Linked DNA regions of Homo sapiens: regions 2 and 3 are each linked to region 1. Evidence: promoter capture Hi-C in 16 types of primary human blood cells and fetal thymus (Javierre and others, 2016). All regions are on one chromosome and are shown on one strand. The core of a region is centred on a gene start or on the middle of the fragment in contact, and the rest is flanking DNA. Distances in the headings are between cores, read along the strand shown. Region 1 holds the start of GPRC5B (G protein-coupled receptor class C group 5 member B). Region 2 overlaps VPS35L (VPS35 endosomal protein sorting factor like). Region 3 overlaps VPS35L (VPS35 endosomal protein sorting factor like).

Region 1 (2,700 bases), core at 110-2,609:
CGGACCGGAACTGGGAGGCTGGCAGGGAGGGATGGGAGTATCTGGAAGGGCCACGGTCCCCAAAGATCAGGGGCTGCCACTATTCCCAGAAGGAGGTGTTCTGCATCTCCCCTTCCTGCAGCCCCCGGGAGAGGGGAGCAGGGGTCCGTCCTATCCCTTTTGGTCTTATGTGGCTGGGATGGTTGCGGCGACGGGGGTAGAGATTGGGGGGCGCACCGCGGAGGGAGAAAGGAAATCTCACCCTGAGAATCTGGAGTGCAGGGAAGGGATGCTGCTCAAAGGTCTGTTTCTGGCTTTGGCGGGGGGCCACCTGAGACTGCCAGGGTTTGATGGTCTGAAGGTCACCCAGGGAACCAGCCCCATATGGGGTGCCGGAGCGCAGCTCCCAGGCCTGGTCGAAGCAATGCGACCTCGGAGAGGCCTGAGGACTAGGACGGGGTGAGGGGGACTCAGAGACGGCTGCCCCGGACCCCTCCTTCAAGCAGGTCCCACGGCCGCCCAGCGGACACGCGTCCGGGCTGTGCCCTGACCGTCTGCGGAGCGCACGGCCAGTGGCCCGGGCCGCTGAGTGTGTGAGCCCTGAAGGGCAGTGGACATGTGCGTACGTGGGTGATGTGTGCGGTAGGGGTGGTGGCGATCCTGCGTAGGGACCCACGTGAGGGGTGCACCGACTGGACGTGTGTGTTTCGAGGGGCCAAGGAAGCGGGTGTTGGTCCCAGTGTGCGTAAACGGACAACGACATCTGGGAGTTGGGCAGTGAGGAGAGAGAAGAGTGTGTCCAGGAGGAACCTGCCTGGAGGAGGCCTAGCGGTGTGTGTGCGCCTAGGTGTATACCGGGGCGTTGGTGACTTCGAGAGGCACCGGGCGGGATCGATCCTCTCTGCGTCCTGGACCTGGTGCTGGTGTGTTTCGGGGAAGTTACTGCTTATGAACCCCCCTTGGAGCGTGGCCTGGGGGCAGGAAGGCTTCCGCGCTGGGACCCCTGGGTCGCGATACCTCCCTCGGTAAGTGTATTGGCTAGGGGAGTGTTCCCGCAAATGGATCTACCCTGGGGAGTTGCCCGGCTCGTCTGGACTGCTTACGGGCGCACTGACGTTGTGGGGGGAATGTCCCCGAATTGGGGGCACGAGGTCGGGGGAATCGTCTCTGAGATCCGGGCTAGAAGCTACGAGCTTGGGCTCCGGGGGTGCATGCAGACGGCGCCTAGCCCCGCGCGGAACCGCCGGCGGGACCGGGGGTGGGGCTCGGAGGCCCGGGGGCGGGGCCGGCCGGGGGCGGGGGCGGGGGCGGGGCCGCGGCCGCTGCAGCAGCGCGGGCCGGGCCAGGGGGCGCCTCGCGCGGCAGCGACTCTGGCAGGCGCTGCAGTGAAGCTGGACCCGCAGGCGGGCGTGCGTGGAGCGGGGGCCGCGGCCGCGCCGCAGAGATGTGACTCGGGCCGAAGGCCAGCTGGAGCGTCGGCGCTGCGGGGCCGCGGGGGTCGGTAAGTGCGAGCTGCGCCGATGCAGTGGAGGACGCTGTGGGGACCCCAGAAACTTTTCCCGCCGTGGATTTGGGAGAATTGGGGGGTCCGCTTCTTGTGTTTTTCTAAGCGCCCCCCCAACCCAAGCCAGGGAGTTTATTGCTGGGGGAGATGTGGAATCTGGGCGAGGGGAACCACGGTGCGACGAGAGCAGAGCCGTAGAGGGGTGGGCGGGGGAGGGGAGGATCTGGGGACCTTTACGGGGGGAGGGAGACTGTGCCCGGACCAGGTAGAGATCCAAGTCTCCCAGGAGGGTGTGGGGGCGACCACAGGTGAAGGGCAGCTGGGAGGGTAAAGGAGCCCAGCCGTGTCCTAGTGACTCGTCATGTGTGAGGAGCTGCGGGCTGGTCCTGGGGCCGCGTTGGGGGCTGACTGTGGACAGGGCAGACGCAGCCGGGGGCACAAGGGCTGGACTTTGGGGGTGAACAGCCGCACCTGTCGCGGGGGCTGGGGGTCAAGCCCGCAGCCGGCTTGAGTGCGCATTACTCAGCAAGGGGAGGGGGGGACACGGCGGTGGGAGATGGCAGAGCTGAGACCTGGGCTGGGGACGAATGACGGGGAGGGGTGGGGAGGAGGGGGCGGCTGCATACAATGGCGGGGGGGGCAGTGGCGTTTCCCTTCCAGACAGGGGGCACTTGGACCTCTGGAAGAGGCGGCTAGGCTGGAGATAAGGACTAGACCTGTTCTCGGTCCCCTCTCCTTGGGGGACACAGGCTTCCAGCCCCACAAGGACCCCACACATCCCGGGGTCCCTAGCGCTTAGGCCGAAAAGGGAGCGCGCGGGAGGAGCCCGCACCCGCCTTGGCCCCGGGCAGCCGGTTGAACAGCCTGGGAAGGGGCCAACGACCTTGCCCCAGAAATCTCCCCCGTGCAGCGGGTTCACTCCTCCGTCCTTGCTCTGTCACACCCAGGCCTAGCCAGTCCTCCCTTTCCGTCCCCCGTTCGCTAAGGGGGCGGCTCCTTGGAGCGCGGACAAAGGCCCCTGGAGTGTGGCGGGCAGCGGCGTCCCCGCCTGGGGCCCCAGCCCACGCGCCACATTGGCCGCCCAACTGCACCAGGCCGGGGGGCACCTGAACAGAGCCCAGAAAGCCCTGGGGGACCCCGCAAAGACAAGAGAAGTGGGGGAGGGATCTGGCACAAAAACCCCGGCACTTCAGCCAAGGAACCTTCTTAATTCAGAA
Region 2 (2,700 bases), core at 37-2,536, 230 kb after region 1:
ATGGTGGTTACAGTGAGCTATGATGGTGCCACGGCACTCCTGCCTGGGTGACAGAGCAAGACCCTGTCTCCAAAAATAAATAAATGAATGAATAGCTAAATAAATTTTGAGCAGCATCACATCTGATAAAATTTTCAGCTTCAAGAAGCTGAAAATGATTTTTCAAAGTTTAACATCAGGCCAGGTGTGGTGGCTCACGCCTGTAATCCCAGCACTTTGGGAGGCCGAGGCGGGCAGATCACTTGAGGACAGGAGTTCGAAACCAGCCTGGCCAACATGGTGAAACCCCCATCTCTACTAAAAATACAAAAATATTAGCTGGGCATGGTGGCACGCGTCTGTAATCCCAGCTACTCAGGAGGTTGAGGTAGGAGAATCGCTTGAACTTGGGAGGCGGAGGTTGCAGTGAGCCGAGATCACGTCACTGCACTCCAGCCTGGGTGACAGAGCAAGACTCCGTCTCAAGAAAAACAAAAACAAAGTTGGGCATCATTATTATCTAGAGGAAAAAAGGCCTTTCAGTTACAAGAACAATATTATTATACATATTTTTATATTAGAAAACTATTTTATATTTTATAATGTTATAAAATATGTCTTATATTAGTATATTAGAGAAAATGAAAGCTAATTCAGCTGGCACATAAAAATGCAGATCCATCGCTCATTCACCTTCCCCACAACACGTATTAAAATTCAGACTCATTTAACCATTTCTCTTGAAAACATTAGAAAATGGCTCATCCCATAGATACAGGGAAAAATTAATCTGAAAAATCAATACTAAACCATTCTTATCATGACATACTCATCTTTTTCTGGGAAATGTAATTTAGTAACCTGCAAACTAAACAGCCCACTGGAGTTCGAGGTCCAACAGTCCTTATCTTAAGAACATACCCGGACAAATGCAGCTGTCTTTCTGGAATGATTTCCTTTCATTACTTTTCTTGTCTCCATTGCCAACCGGTTCACACTCTGAATTTATTAATAAAATAGAAATGGTAATGAAGCGATGGCCGATTCAGATGAGTGTCTTCCATAGAGATCTCAACATTAACTACATACAGGTCAATGAGAACAAGCTTTCTAGGACCAAGACTGGTTAGCACTAAACCTTGAAATGCCAAAGGGGTCATCAGGCCTGATCCAATCATGGCTTGAGCAAACATCTCCAAGAGGGTAGAACAAAAGGCAGTGTTGGCTACGTCAGTCATGCCTTTTGATCAGCATTTTAGTGACCATTTTCTGGCTTAATGAATAGCTGGGGCTCACTTACTCCATTTCCAGAAATCCTACCACACCAAAGTTTAAGAATTTAGAAATCTTAAGAGACAACTCCAAAGCACACCATTTAGACAATCAGACCACACCATTCAGCTATACAGTACCAACAATAAGAACAATAATGATAGTAGCCACATCATCACTAATAGTGTTCCAAGCACTATTTAAGAGCTATACATTCATTGGTTCACTTAAGCTTCATAATCCCAGGGTGGATACTATTACCTCCCCTGATTTCCAGATAGTTTCTAAATTTAGGTCTTAAGTTTAGTTGTGCTAAATAACTTGCTAACCAGCAAACAAATACATATGAAAGTTATTCTCCTTGAATAGACATGAAATAATGAAAGAGCCTTAGGGAACCCTTCCACAGATATAAAAAGTTTGGACCTGTGGTTCCCAAACGGTGCACCATGGCACCCTGGGGTGCTGCAGCAAACTCACAGGGGCGCCACCGTTTTTTAGGGAATATTTGTTTGTCGCACATTGTAAACAGCAATACTTGTTTGTTGCACGTTGTAAAAAGCACTGGTGCAAGGCTGATTTGATGATGGACTGCTTTACATCCCTTATAGCCACATCATATATTTGTAAAACTTGTTTTTCGTGGCTACTGTGATCAAAAGCAAGTTTAATCGCTGTGCAAGAATAAATGTAAAAAACAGTGAATGTAAAACAAGAAATAAGAATAGCATCACCAATCTAACTCCAAAATTTTATGAAGCTGTGATATGCTTCATAAGTACACACCCATCATTACTAATTATGGTTAAGAAAAAAATTGGCAGGGCTTGATGTTTATGCCTGTAATCCTAGCACTTTGGGACGCCGAGGCAGGTGGATCACCTTAGGTTAAGAGTTCAAGACCAGCCTGGCCAACATGGTGAAACCTCATCTCTACTAAAAAATACAAAGAATTAGCCGGGCATGGTGGCAGGTGCCTGTAATTATAGCTACTCGGGAGGCTGAGGCAAGAGAATCACTTGAACCCGGGAGGTGGAGGTTGCAGTGAGCCAAAATCGCACCATTGCACTCTAGCCTGGGCAACAAAGCAAGAACTCCAGCTCAAAAAGAAAAGGAAAAAAAAGTATTATTTTTCTTTCAATTTATATATATACTTTCTTCAAATGGCTGTCAAGTTGTTAGACATAAATACTTAAGTTGTCTGAACCTAACTTTTTTTTTTTTTTTTTTTTTTGAGATGGAGTCTCCCTTTGTTGCCTAGGCTAGAGTGTAGAGTGCAGTGGCGCGATCTCTGCTTACTGCAACCTCCACCTCCCAGATTTAAGCGATTCTTCTGCCTCAGACTCCCAAGTAGCTGGGACAACAGGTGCCTGCCACCCCGCCTGACTAACTTTGGTATTTTTAGTAGAGACAGCATTTCACCATATTGGGCAGGCTGGTCTCAAACTC
Region 3 (2,700 bases), core at 142-2,641, 250 kb after region 1:
CAAGATCGCACCACTGCACTCCAGCCTGGGCAACAGAGCAAGACTCCGTCTCAAAACAAAACAAAAACAAAAACAAAAAAAAACAAATGTTAACAGCTAGTAAATCTGGTTAAAGAATAATAGGAATTCTTTGAGCTTTCTTTTAACTTTCCAATAAGCTTAAATTTATTTCCACATAAAAAAATTATGCTTAAGCCCAGGAAGTCGAGGCTGTGCCAAGCGGTGATCGCACCACTGCACTCCAGCCTCCGTGACTGAGCGAGACCCTGTTTCAAAAAAAAAGGAAAAAACAAAGTTGATTTAACTAAAAATACTCGCAGTTTACTTACTGGTGACAACAATGAAGACAACGCTTATTGAGCATTTACCACGTGCCAGGCCACTGTGTGAGGGCTTCACTTCATCCTCACAGTAACTCTCAGGTAGCACTATTACTATCTCCATTTCACAGGTGAGAAAACTGGGGCACAACAAGGTTAAGTAACTGATCAAAGGGCACATGGCTAGGATATGGCAGAGCTATGATTCAAACACAGGATTATGTGCCTTTATAGCCTGACCCATACAACACGCCTATTTAATTCAACAGAACAAAATTCCTAACAATGTTGAAATGAGAAATGCAAATCTGTTACCTGGGGGTAGGAATCTTCAAATGCACGATCTGGAGTCATGTGCTTGATGACATCTGCCAAAACGGTATTCACCTCTCGTTTCTAAGCAGGAAAAAGGAACCAAACCTGAATTAGACACTGTATGGCAACTGCTGACCATGTTCCTGGGGGAAAGGACTAACGTATTCAGAATATATCACACACCTTCCAGGAAATCAATTTCAGTATTCTGCTGAAAATAACGGAAGGGAGGAAATCTCACTCATATCACCCGGTCTAGTACCACAGCCCCACACCTAGTCAGGACTAAACGCTCTTCTCAAAAGTTCTGGGGCTTTACATTGTCTCTGCTTTCCCAGAGTGATGGTTGAATCGGCCGTGCCTCTCTCCACCTGCCTGTCCCAGGCCCTCCCTCAGGTGCCTGCAGAGAGAACAGTGAAGCACTGCGGAAGACTGCAGGCTCACCCTTACAAGCTGTCTGACCTAACTGCTCACTGTTCACTTTTGTCACCTATAGCAGGAGTCAGCCAACTGCAGCCCAATCCAGCCCAGGGCCTGTTTTTATAAGGCCCACAAGCTAAGAATGGCTTTTAAGTCTCTATAATTAACTGCTGATTTATAGAAAATACAAAAGGCAGAAGAGCACGCCAGACACCATCACAAGGATGCAATGGGAAAAATCCAGTCTTTGCAACTCTATAGAGCAAAAGACCCAATTTCTTCAACAAATAAATTACAGGGAAAGAAAGGGGAAGGAGAGAAGGAGACAGTTTGAGAGAGAACTTATACATCAAAAGTATCCTAAAATGTCTATTGCAATGGAGAAGCCTTATTTTCAACCAGATTTCAACAAATAAACTTAAAAAAAATGAGACAATTGGGGAAATCAGAATATTGACTGGTACTGATGATATTAAATAATTAGTAACTCGGCTGGGTGCAGTGGCTCATGCCTGTAATCCCAGCACTTCGGGAGGCTGAGGCAGGTGGATTGCTTGAGGTCAGGAGTTCGAGACCAGCCTGGCCAACATGGTGAAACCCCGTCTCTACTAAAAATACATAAAATTAGCGGGGTGTGGTCACACACACCTGTAGTCCTAGTTACTTAGGAGGCTGAGGCAGGAGAATCACTTGAACCCAGGAGGCGGAGGTTGCAGTGAGCTGAGATCATGCCACTGCACTCCAGCCTGGGTGACGGAGTGAGACTCCATCTCAAAAACAGAAGAAAAAAAAAATTAGTAACTTTTTTCCTTAGAATAATGTATTTAGATTTGGTTTAAGGAAGTGAACCCTGCAACCTGGGCAACATGGCAAGACCCCATCTCTACATCTCCACATGTGCCTGTGGTCCCAGCCACTCGGGAGGCTGAGGCAGGAGCATTGCCTGAGCTCAGGAGGTCATGGCTGGAGTGAGTGACGATTGCACCACTGGACTCCAGTCTGGGCAACAGAGTGAGATCCTGTCTGTCAATCAATCAATCAATGGAATCTTTATATTTTTACAGGTGTGCTGAAATACTGACAGATGAAACGATACAATGTCTGAGATATGCTTCAAAATATTCCAGGGGTCAGGGGACATGGTAATGATATAAATCAAACAAGATCTGTCATAAATTGATAATTCCTGATTGATGGGTACAAGGGAGTGCATATGTTTTACATTTCCATAATAAAATGTAAAATAAAAATAGGACCAAAAAAAACCACAAAAATCAATGGACCAACATTTACCTAATGCTCAAAACGAGGCAACATCAATTTTGGTGTTAGAGGCCAGGATGGTGTCTACCTTCACCTCCTCAAAGGCTGTTGTGACAGGGAGAGGCAGTTCTGGGGGTTCTGCGGGGTCACTTATTTCCTATTTCTTACTCTGGATGGTGATTATATGGTCATACCTTGTGAAAATTCATTGAGCAGCAAACTTATGATACGTGCACTTTTTTGCATGTGTGCTTGGCTTAGTCTGTTTGGGCTTCTCTACCAAAATACCATAAACCAGGAAGCTTGTAAACAACAAAAATGTAATTCTCACAGTTCTGGAGGCTGGGAAGTCCAAGATCAAGGCAGATTTGGTGTCTGGTGA

The links. Contacts are between HindIII fragments. The CHiCAGO score rates a contact against its expected background, and 5 or more counts as called.
Region 2: a contact is called between a fragment that was not itself captured here and the fragment with the promoter of GPRC5B in region 1, in 10 of 17 cell types (M0 macrophages, M2 macrophages, endothelial precursors and 7 more). The highest score is 15.2, in M0 macrophages.
Region 3: a fragment that was not itself captured here is called in contact with the fragment with the promoter of GPRC5B in region 1 in 13 of 17 cell types (endothelial precursors, total CD4 T cells, M2 macrophages and 10 more); the score reaches 14.7 in endothelial precursors.

The regions. Positions count from the first base shown.
Region 1 is chr16:19,883,507-19,886,206 of GRCh38, reverse strand. GPRC5B (G protein-coupled receptor class C group 5 member B) reads left to right here and starts at 1,359. Exons shown (of 4, transcript NM_016235.3): 1 at 1,359-1,480. RefSeq lists a silencer at 806-1,100 and an enhancer at 2,616-2,700. The HindIII fragment of the contact is 5,537 bases long and covers 1-2,700 here.
Region 2 is chr16:19,648,660-19,651,359 of GRCh38, reverse strand. It overlaps VPS35L (VPS35 endosomal protein sorting factor like), which reads right to left. Exons shown (of 31, transcript NM_020314.7): 25 at 901-978. Among named protein-coding and RNA genes, the nearest start is that of KNOP1, 68 kb to the left of the region's middle. The HindIII fragment of the contact is 398 bases long and covers 1,088-1,485 here.
Region 3 is chr16:19,631,108-19,633,807 of GRCh38, reverse strand. It overlaps VPS35L (VPS35 endosomal protein sorting factor like), which reads right to left. Exons shown (of 31, transcript NM_020314.7): 19 at 636-716. Among named protein-coding and RNA genes, the nearest start is that of VPS35L, 77 kb to the right of the region's middle. The HindIII fragment of the contact is 2,462 bases long and covers 161-2,622 here.